Regions from separate parts of the Homo sapiens genome. Here region 2 is linked to region 1. Evidence: promoter capture Hi-C in 16 types of primary human blood cells and fetal thymus (Javierre and others, 2016). All regions are on one chromosome and are shown on one strand. The core of a region is centred on a gene start or on the middle of the fragment in contact, and the rest is flanking DNA. Distances in the headings are between cores, read along the strand shown. Region 1 holds the start of MED1 (mediator complex subunit 1). Region 2 overlaps FBXL20 (F-box and leucine rich repeat protein 20).

The links. The method cuts DNA at HindIII sites, captures the fragments that hold promoters and counts their contacts. A CHiCAGO score of 5 or more calls a contact.
Region 2: a fragment that was not itself captured here is called in contact with the fragment with the promoter of MED1 in region 1 in 1 of 17 cell types (M1 macrophages); the score reaches 5.0 in M1 macrophages.

Annotation. Positions count from the first base shown.
Region 1 is chr17:39,448,938-39,453,385 of GRCh38, reverse strand. It overlaps MED1 (mediator complex subunit 1), which reads left to right and starts at 2,123. Exons shown (of 17, transcript NM_004774.4): 1 at 2,123-2,348. The coding sequence starts at 2,324. The HindIII fragment of the contact is 4,305 bases long and covers 600-4,448 here.
Region 2 is chr17:39,258,971-39,263,418 of GRCh38, reverse strand. FBXL20 (F-box and leucine rich repeat protein 20) reads left to right here. Exons shown (of 15, transcript NM_032875.3): 15 at 1,852-4,448. The coding sequence ends at 1,959. Among named protein-coding and RNA genes, the nearest start is that of STAC2, 35 kb to the right of the region's middle. The HindIII fragment of the contact is 6,330 bases long and covers 1-4,448 here.

The sequences.
Region 1 (4,448 bases), core at 874-3,373:
GTTGCAGTGAGCCGAGATTGTGCCACTGCACTCCAGCCTTGGCGACAGAGCGAGACACTGTCTCAAAAAAAAAAAAAAAAAAAAAAAAAAAAAAAGAGTCCTTTGGCGCCTCCTTCAAAGCTTAGTCACTTACAATTTGCCCATTGTACCCATTTTCCTATGTATACTGTTCCTATATGTACCTTGAATACTTTTCTTGTTTAATGACATGGCTTTCTTTTTTTTTTTCAGACTCCGTCTTGCTCTTATTGCCCAGACTGGAGTGCGATGACACGATCTTGGCTCACTGCAACCTCCACTTCCCGGATTGAAGCGATTCTCCTGCCTCAGCCTCCCCAGTAGCTGGGATTACAGGCATGTGTCACCACACCCGGCTAATTTTTTGTATTTTTAGTAGAAATGGGGTTTCACCATTTTGGCCAGGCTGGTCTCGACCTCCTGATCTCAAGTACCTGCCTCAGCCTCCCAAAGGACATTGCTCTCTTATCTTCTAGAGTAGAACTTTTCCAATGGTGTCTCTCATCTGCATTTTCAGATGACAAATGATAACTTCTCATTCCATTCTGTAACCAGAAGTTAGTAAAGTTTATTTATAAGCTTTATAAAGTTAAAAATTTCCTAGCAACACTTAGTACAGACTTTTTTTTTTATTTGTATAGAGTTTCCATGATAAAGTGTAGTTGGGTATCTGGCATTGGTACTTAGGGCATAATAATTAATGAAAAAATTTTGAGCCCCTATGATTATAGTGACCAATCATATTTTCGGAACTCTAAATAAGATTAGCCTATCAAGCGCTAGGGTTGTGTTTTCATGTTTGTTTATTTGTCTGAGACAGAGTCTTGCTCTGCCACCCAGGCTGGAGTGCAGTAGCATGATCTCGGCTCACTGCAACCTCTGCCTCCCAGGTTCAAGCGCTTCTCCTGCTTCAGCCTCCTGAGTAGCTCCGCGACCAGCCGTGTTTTCATGTTTGTATTAGCAGCTCCAAATATACACATATTAGGACTCCACAGATGCTTACTAAGTGAAGAACACTTAGTTTGAGGATAGTAAAGGATACAGTTTTTTCTTTTTGAGACAGTCTCACTCTGTCACCCAGGTTGGAGTGCAGTGACGCGATCTCTGCTCACTGCAACTTTCGCTTCACGGGTTCCAGAGATTCTCCTGCTTCAGCCTCCCGAGTAGCTGGGATTACAGGAGCGCACCACCACACCTGGCTAATTTTTGTATTTTTCGTAGAGACGGAGTTTTACCATGTTAGCCAGGCTGGTCTCAAACTCCTGACCTGATGATCCACCTACCTTGGCCTCCCAAAGTGCTGGGATTACAGGCATGAGCCACTGCGCCTAGCCAGAAATAGTTTTGAAACTAAAAAAATGAGAAAAGGGGAATTAACTGTGCTATAGGCTCGCTTTGAACGTCATGTTACAATGCGCCACTATCTTTCTTAGGATGTAATTATTGCATCTAGTATCTCAGGTTAAACTTATCTTTCATAAGACACTCCTGATACCAATAGCCTTTGAAAATCTAGTCATGGCCGGGTGTGGTGGCTCATGCCTGTAATCCCAGCACTTTGGGAGGCCGAGGCGGGCGGACAGCGAGGTCAGGAGTTCGAGACCAGCCTGGCCAACACGGCGAAACCCCGTCTCTACTAAAAATAGCTGGGCGTGGTGGCGGGTGCCTGTAATCCCAGCTACTCGGGAGGCTGAGGCAGGAGAATCGCTTGAACCCGGGAGGCGGAGGTTGCAGTGAGCCGACATCGTGCCATTGCACTCCAGCCTGGGCGACAAGAGCAAGACTCCATCTCAAAAAAAAAAAAAAAAAAATTAAAAAAAAAAGAAAAGCTAGTCTTTCAGTACAGGGATCTGGAGATTTTAATTTGCGAGCTGTTTAACTGCTAAAATAAAAAAAAAATGGCGGTTTCCGCAGGGGAGCCGAAAGCTACCGGCCGGCAGGTTTAATATCCAGCGGCGCGAGGCCTGAGACAGCTCAGATCAAAGGGAAGACTGCGCTGAAAGAAATCTCGCGAGGCCGACGCATTGACCAATATTCGCGAGATTTCGATGCCCTGTCCTCTTCCTCTCTCTGGCAGGACCACGGTTTATCTCGCGAATTTTGGGAAGTTCCGTTGGGGAAGATGGCGGCGGCCTCGAGCACCCTTCTCTTCTTGCCGCCGGGGACTTCAGATTGATCCTTCCCGGGAAGAGTAGGGACTGCTGGTGCCCTGCGTCCCGGGATCCCGAGCCAACTTGTTTCCTCCGTTAGTGGTGGGGAAGGGCTTATCCTTTTGTGGCGGATCTAGCTTCTCCTCGCCTTCAGGATGAAAGCTCAGGGGGAAACCGAGGGTAAGTGACTGTAGGGGAAAGGAGGGGGCGGGACACAACTGGGGGAGCCAGTTTGTGAGAGGAGGTTCTTGCAGATGTCCCATGGGGGCCACTTTAGGGGCATAGAGTCCAGGAGAGGGAATGTGTATTAGTTTTAGATTGTCACTATACCCTCCTTGGTGATTATAGAGCTTCGACTTTAGGGCGATGGGGACTCTCAACTTCTGTGAAGATTTCATGCTCGACTAGGGCACTTTTGGCCTAAAGTGGTGGGAGACGGGGCAAATGAATACAAAATCAGCTTACATCTCGTTCCAGAAGAGACGCCTGAATAAATTTAGGGCTGTGTGTAAACGTACTGGAGACTATTTTGGCATCAATGAAATGATTAGGTCCTTATATTTATTAGCAGCCAGCAGTTCTCTACAATGTCAAGTGTTCAGATCCTGTGCCATTGTGTATTTTTAAAGTGCGCTGAATTTCGTTCTTTTATTGACCGAACTACGAACTGCAGAAAAACAACTTTTCTGTGGAACTTTACTAAGATTTTCTAAAGTTCCACACTCCGGCTAAGATGCTGCCTTAGCATTTTGGGCATAGTTCTGTTGATACAGTGAACTGTGTTATTGTTTATCTTCTCCAGTTTCCTCTGAGCTTTGCAGATTAGAGTCCTTGCCTGATTATTTTTGTATAGTTTCTGGCACGTAATAGTCGCTCAAAAAGTGTTGGAGCATCGAAGTACAGATATTTATCAGCAGGTTTCTCAAGAAAAACAAAGAGTGTGTTTTGGAGCAGAGGTCGAAAGGTGAGGCCGGGAGCAGTGACTCACACCTGTAATCCCAGCGCTTTGGGAGGCTGCGGCTGGAGGATCCCTGGAGCCCAGGAGTTCGCGACCAGCCTGGGCAACATACTGAGGCCCTGTCTCTACAAAAAAAATAAAAAAATTGCCGGGCACTGTGGCTCACGCGTGTAATCCCAGCACTTTGGGAGGTTGAGGCGGGTGGATCACCTGAGGTTGGGAGATCGAGACCAGCCTGACCAACATGGAGAAAACCCGTCTCTACTAGAAATACAAAATTAGCCGGGCGTGGTGGTGAATGCCTGTAATCCCAGCTACCTGGGAGGCTGAGGTGGGAGGATTGCTTCAACCCAGGAGGTGGAGGTTGTGGTGAGCCAAGACTGCGCCATTGCATTCCTACCTGGGCTACAAGAGCGAAACTTCGTCTCAAAAAAAAAAAAAAAAAAAAAAGGCCGGGTGTGGTGGCTCACTCCTGTAATCCCAGCACTTTGGGAGGCTGAGGTGGGCGGATCACCTGAGGTTAGGAGTTCAAGACCAGACTGGCTAACATGGTGAAACCCTTTCTCTACTAAAAATACAAAATTAGCCAGGCACAGTGGCATGCCTGCAATCCCAGCTACTTGGTAGGCTGAGGCAGGAGAATCACCCAAACCCGGGAGGTGGAGGTTGCAGTGAGCCAAGATAGTGCCACTGGACTCCAGTCTGGGCAACAAGAGCAAAACTCCGTCTCAAAAAAAAAAAAAAAGAAAAAAAATTGAAAATAAATAAAATAAAAAATTAGCTCCAGGTAGTGGCTCAAGGCTGTAATCCCAGCACCTTGGGAGGCCGAAGCGGGCGAATCACTTGAGCCCACAAGTTGGAGACCAGCCTAGACAACCTGGCAAAAGCCTGTCTCTACAACAGATACAAAAATTAGCTAGGCATGGTGGCACAAGCCAGTAGTCCCAGCTACTTGGGAGGCTGAGGTGGGAGGATTACCTGAATCCTGTAGGTCAAGGCTCCAGTGAGCCAGAATCATGCCACTGCACTGTAACCTGGGCGACAGAGCGAGACCCTGTTTCAAGGGAAAATTAGCTATAGTCTCAGCTACTCTGAAGGCTGAGCTGGGAGGATCACTTGATCCTGGAGCATGGGAGGTTGAGGCTGCAATAGGCCTTGATTGTGCCAGTGCACTCAAGCTGGGGCTACAGAGTGATACTCTGTCTTAAAAAAAAAAAAGAAAAGAAAGATGTACTCCTTGGGTGCAAGGAGACAACAAGTGTAAAAATGGAAACTTCATGAAGTAGGAGTTTTTGTCTAGTTTGTTCATTGCTGTCTTTTTA
Region 2 (4,448 bases), core at 615-3,114, 190 kb after region 1:
CCCAGCCTCCCAACAGCTGAGACTACAGGCGTGTGCCATCACGCCAGCCTGATTTTTTGTATTTTTGGTAGAGACGGCATTTTACCATGTTGCCCAGGCCGGTTTCAAACTCCTGAGCTCAAGCGATCTGCCTGCCTTGGCCTTCAGAAGTGCTGGGATTATAGGTGTGAGCCACCATGCCCGGCCTTAAAAAACTATTTTGTGGAGACAAGGTCTTGCTATGTTTCCCAGGCTAGTCTCAAATTCCTGGCCTCAAGCGATCCTCCCACCTCAGCCTCCCAAAGTGCTCGGATTACAGGTGTGAGTCACTGTGCCAGGCCCAGATTTTTACCTTTGCTTTTGGACCTATCCACCATAATAGAGAGACCCAGGTATAGCCAAATAACTAGAAAAAGAAGTTTTTTGTTCTTTTTTTTTGAGACAGAGTCTCGCTCTGTCACCCAGGCTGGAGCGCAGTGGCATGATCTTGGCTCACTGCAAGCTCTGCCTCCCAGGTTCACGCTATTCTCCTGACTCAGCCTCCCCAGTAGCTGGGACTACAGGTGCATGCCACCACGCCCGGCTAATTTTCTTTTTGTATTTTTAGTAGAGGCAGAGTTTCACCGTGTTAGCCAGGATGGTCTCGACCTCCTGACCTCGTGATCCGCCCGCTTCAGCCTCCCAAAGTGCTGGGATTACAGGCATGAGCCACTGCGCCCGGCCGAAAAAGAAGTTTTAAAAAGCTGGATGAATCTGTGTGTTAGATTGTTCTGCTCAACAGATGTTTATTGGAACATCTGCTTCACACCTGCTGTAGGAAAGGCAGTGTGCTTATTCAGGCCCTTAATACCAACCTCTAGGCCAGTCGCGGTGGCTCACGCCTGTAATCCCAGCACTTTGGGAAGCTGAGGCATGAGGATCACCTGAAGTCAGGAGTTCAAGACCAGCCTGGTCAACATGACGAAATGCCATCTCAACTAAAAATACAAAAATTAGCCGAGCATGGTGGCAGGTGCCTGTAATCCCAGCTGCTCAGGAGGCTGAGGCAGGAAAATCGCTTGAACCAGGAGGCGGAGGTTGCAGTGAGCCAAGATCACACCATTGCACTCCAGCCTGGGCAACAAGATGAAACTCTATCTCAAAAAAAATACCAACCTCTAAAAAATCCACGTTGGCCACATGGCCTTGAGCAAATAAAAGAGTACCAAACTTCATCTTGAGTTCGAGTTGGCCTCAGTTCCTCTTCCCCTCTTCAGACATAGAGGACTGTGAGCATAATTGCACTGGGGGTGGCCTTGCAGCCATTTTTTTTCTTCACCAAAGAGAATGAGAGCCACAGGTCAACCAGAGCCTCTTACGTGCCTACTTACATTAGGGTTCCTAGACTGCCTGGCTGCCAGGAGTCTCTTCCATCTCCCATCCTTGGGCGGACCACTTGAGGTCAGGAGTTCGAGACCAGTCTGGCCAACATGGTGAAACCCCGTCTCTACTAACAATACAAAAATTAGCCTTTGTATTTTTAGTAGAAACGGGGTTTCACCATGTTAGCCTGGATGGTCTCAATCTCCTGACCTCGTGATCCGCCCGTCTCGGCTTCCCAAAGTGCAGGGATTACAGGCGTGAGCCACCGCGCCCGGCCCTCAGTTTTATTATTACACAAACAGGTACCAAAGTCATATGAGTTGTTCTGGTCATTGAGAACAACCTAGGATGGAACAAAGTAGAACCCAGGCCCTCTAACATCCTGACCAGTGCTCAGCCTTTGCCCTGCTTTTATGTTCATTGAGCCCCTCGGTAGTTTTTCTAAGAACCAACATTGCTCTTTCTGTTTAAGCCCTCTCTTAAACGTTTAATGTTTCTGTCTTGTTTCAGACCCATTTACCCAATATTAAAGTCCACGCCTACTTCGCACCTGTCACTCCACCCCCATCAGTAGGGGGCAGCAGACAGCGCTTCTGCAGATGCTGCATCATCCTATGACAATGGAGGTGGTCAACCTTGGCGAACTGAGTATTTAATGACACTTCTAGAGCTACCGTGGAGTCTCTCCAGTGGAAGCAACCCCAGTGTTCTGAGCAAGGGTTACAAAGTGAGGGAGGGCAGTGTCCAGATCCCCAGAGCCACACATACATACACATACACACCCTTACCCCCATCCACTCTAGCTTTGTGACCATGGGACTGAAGTTTGTGATGGCTTTTTTATCAAGTAGATTGGTAAAATTTAACCATTCCTGTTGAGGTGCCCATAAGAAAATCATAGGCCAAGATAGGGAGGGGCATTCCAGCAAACCCCGTGTTAATGCTACTGTGGTTTTTAAATTTTTGTCTAGGGGTTTCTTTGGGGATTTTAGAACAGCATCTGCTGTCCTCCGGGGTCAAGAAAAGCATGGAAAGACAATATATGATGTACCCAGGGACCAGAAAGAAAATTTCTTTGCATCTTAGAAATGGTAGACATTCATTGTGACTAAAGAGCTTCTATGCTTCCTTGTTTCCATGCCAACATGCTGAGCATGCTCACAAAGAAGGCTCGTCCATTCCTCCTGTGTTTTAGTATTTGGCCCAGAGGTTTCCTAAATGGTTGCCTTGAAATCACTGTGGTCCAAATGTAATTCTTACACACTCAAATTATCACTGTCTGTAGCACACTTGTGCACCTGTCTTACATTCTCTGTTGCTCCCCCCCACACTCTTGCTCAGTCTGTCACCTGTTCAGTCTGCTTACTCACTCAATTGTTACCCTTTTGCTGTTGTCGTGTTTACAGTTTGCATTTTGAATGATTAGTTGGGATTACCAAACATTTTTTAAAAAGATATTATCAATAAATATTTTTTTAATTCTAAATTTTACCATTAGGGGACCCTGCCTGAATCTTTGCCAACCTGCAAGGAAACTCTAATGAAAGCAAGAAAAGTTATGAGAAGAAACTGTTTTGATGAAAACAGATGCTACCTTTTGGTTTCTATTTTATCTTCTGATATGTGATAATTCGCATGGTATCCCCAATATTCCCCCTACATATTCTTCCTTCTGTCAGACTCCACCAACTGTATCATAAGGAAAGAGAGAGATGTATTATTAGGAAAGAGTGAAAATGATAAATCACAAAACAGAGCCTGAAAGTCCCCAACACCCAAGTTCAGACATTAATGATTAATGTTATTATATATTTACTGAAATCTAGGAGTGATCAGTGGCATCTCTGACCTATGAGGTTGTTTTAACAGGAATGCCACTAGAGGAGCTGTGTATTCTAGCCAGTCTGTTTCTCTCTTTTCCCCCATTTCAGCCTTTCAGGGATACAAGAATGGCTCTATAACAGCTGGTCAATTGTATGTCAGTGTTAATGGATTCATATCTAGTGTTGGCACCCCAAAGGGCCAGAACCTTCCCATAACCTGTCAGTCATCTCTCTTTTCTGCCCCAGTCTTTTTTTTTTTTTTTTTTTTTTTTTAAGACGGGTTCTCACTCTTGCCCAGACTGGAGTGCAGTGGTGCGATCTCGGCTCACCGCAACCTCCACTTCCCAGGCTCAAGCGATTCTCTTGCCTCAGCCTACCGAGTAGCTGGGATTACAGGCATGCACCACTACTGCCTGGCTAATTTTTGTATTTTTAGTAGAGATGGGGTTTCACATGTTGGCCAGCCTGGTCTTGAACTCCTGACCTCAAATGATCCACCTGCCTCAGCCTCCCAAAGTGCTGGGACTACAGGCATGAGCCACCATGCCCGGCCCTGTTCAGACTTCTGAATGAAGTATGAATGTAGCCAGGTGAAGCATTGAGGCAGCTGAAAGAGAACACTGAGAGGAAGTAAGGGGTTTAGTGTCTCTGCTTAGCCTGGGCACTAGAACTGAGGGAGGAATTTAGTGTCCAGGACTCAAGAGTCCAAGAAGAAGCACCCTCTGTCTTCCCAAAAAATCAGAGGATAAAGGAAGTAAAATGAGTTTTTAAAGCATAAGAAGAAAATTTCTAAACCCCAAGATTAGAAACCCAGTGTGATTTTTAGTAGGGTGATTTTGGCGGGGGGTGTCCTTTGAGACATTAATGTGCAATCCATCATAATATTAATCTTCTATATGATCCAGACTATTAAAAGGCTTGTTTTATTTATTTATTTTATTTTATTTTATTTTTTTAGAGATGGGGTCTCGCTATCTTGCCCAGCCTGGACTCAAACTCCTGGGCTCAAGCCTTCCTCCCACCTCAGCCTCCCAAGTAGCTGGGACTACAGGTGTGTGCCACTGTACCCAGCTTAAGAGGTTTGTTTTAATGCTGCAGTTGCTGATTATACCAGCATATATAAGAATAAAGTCTGATTTATTTATCCATTGATTTAGAAGGCAATTGGATGAAAGGGTCTTAGAAGTCTATACTATCCATTAATATTTATCATATTAAATTTATTTTAAATCCTGTTTTATTGTGCCGCTTTAAAAACGCAGATTACTTGTTTATTCATTCCCC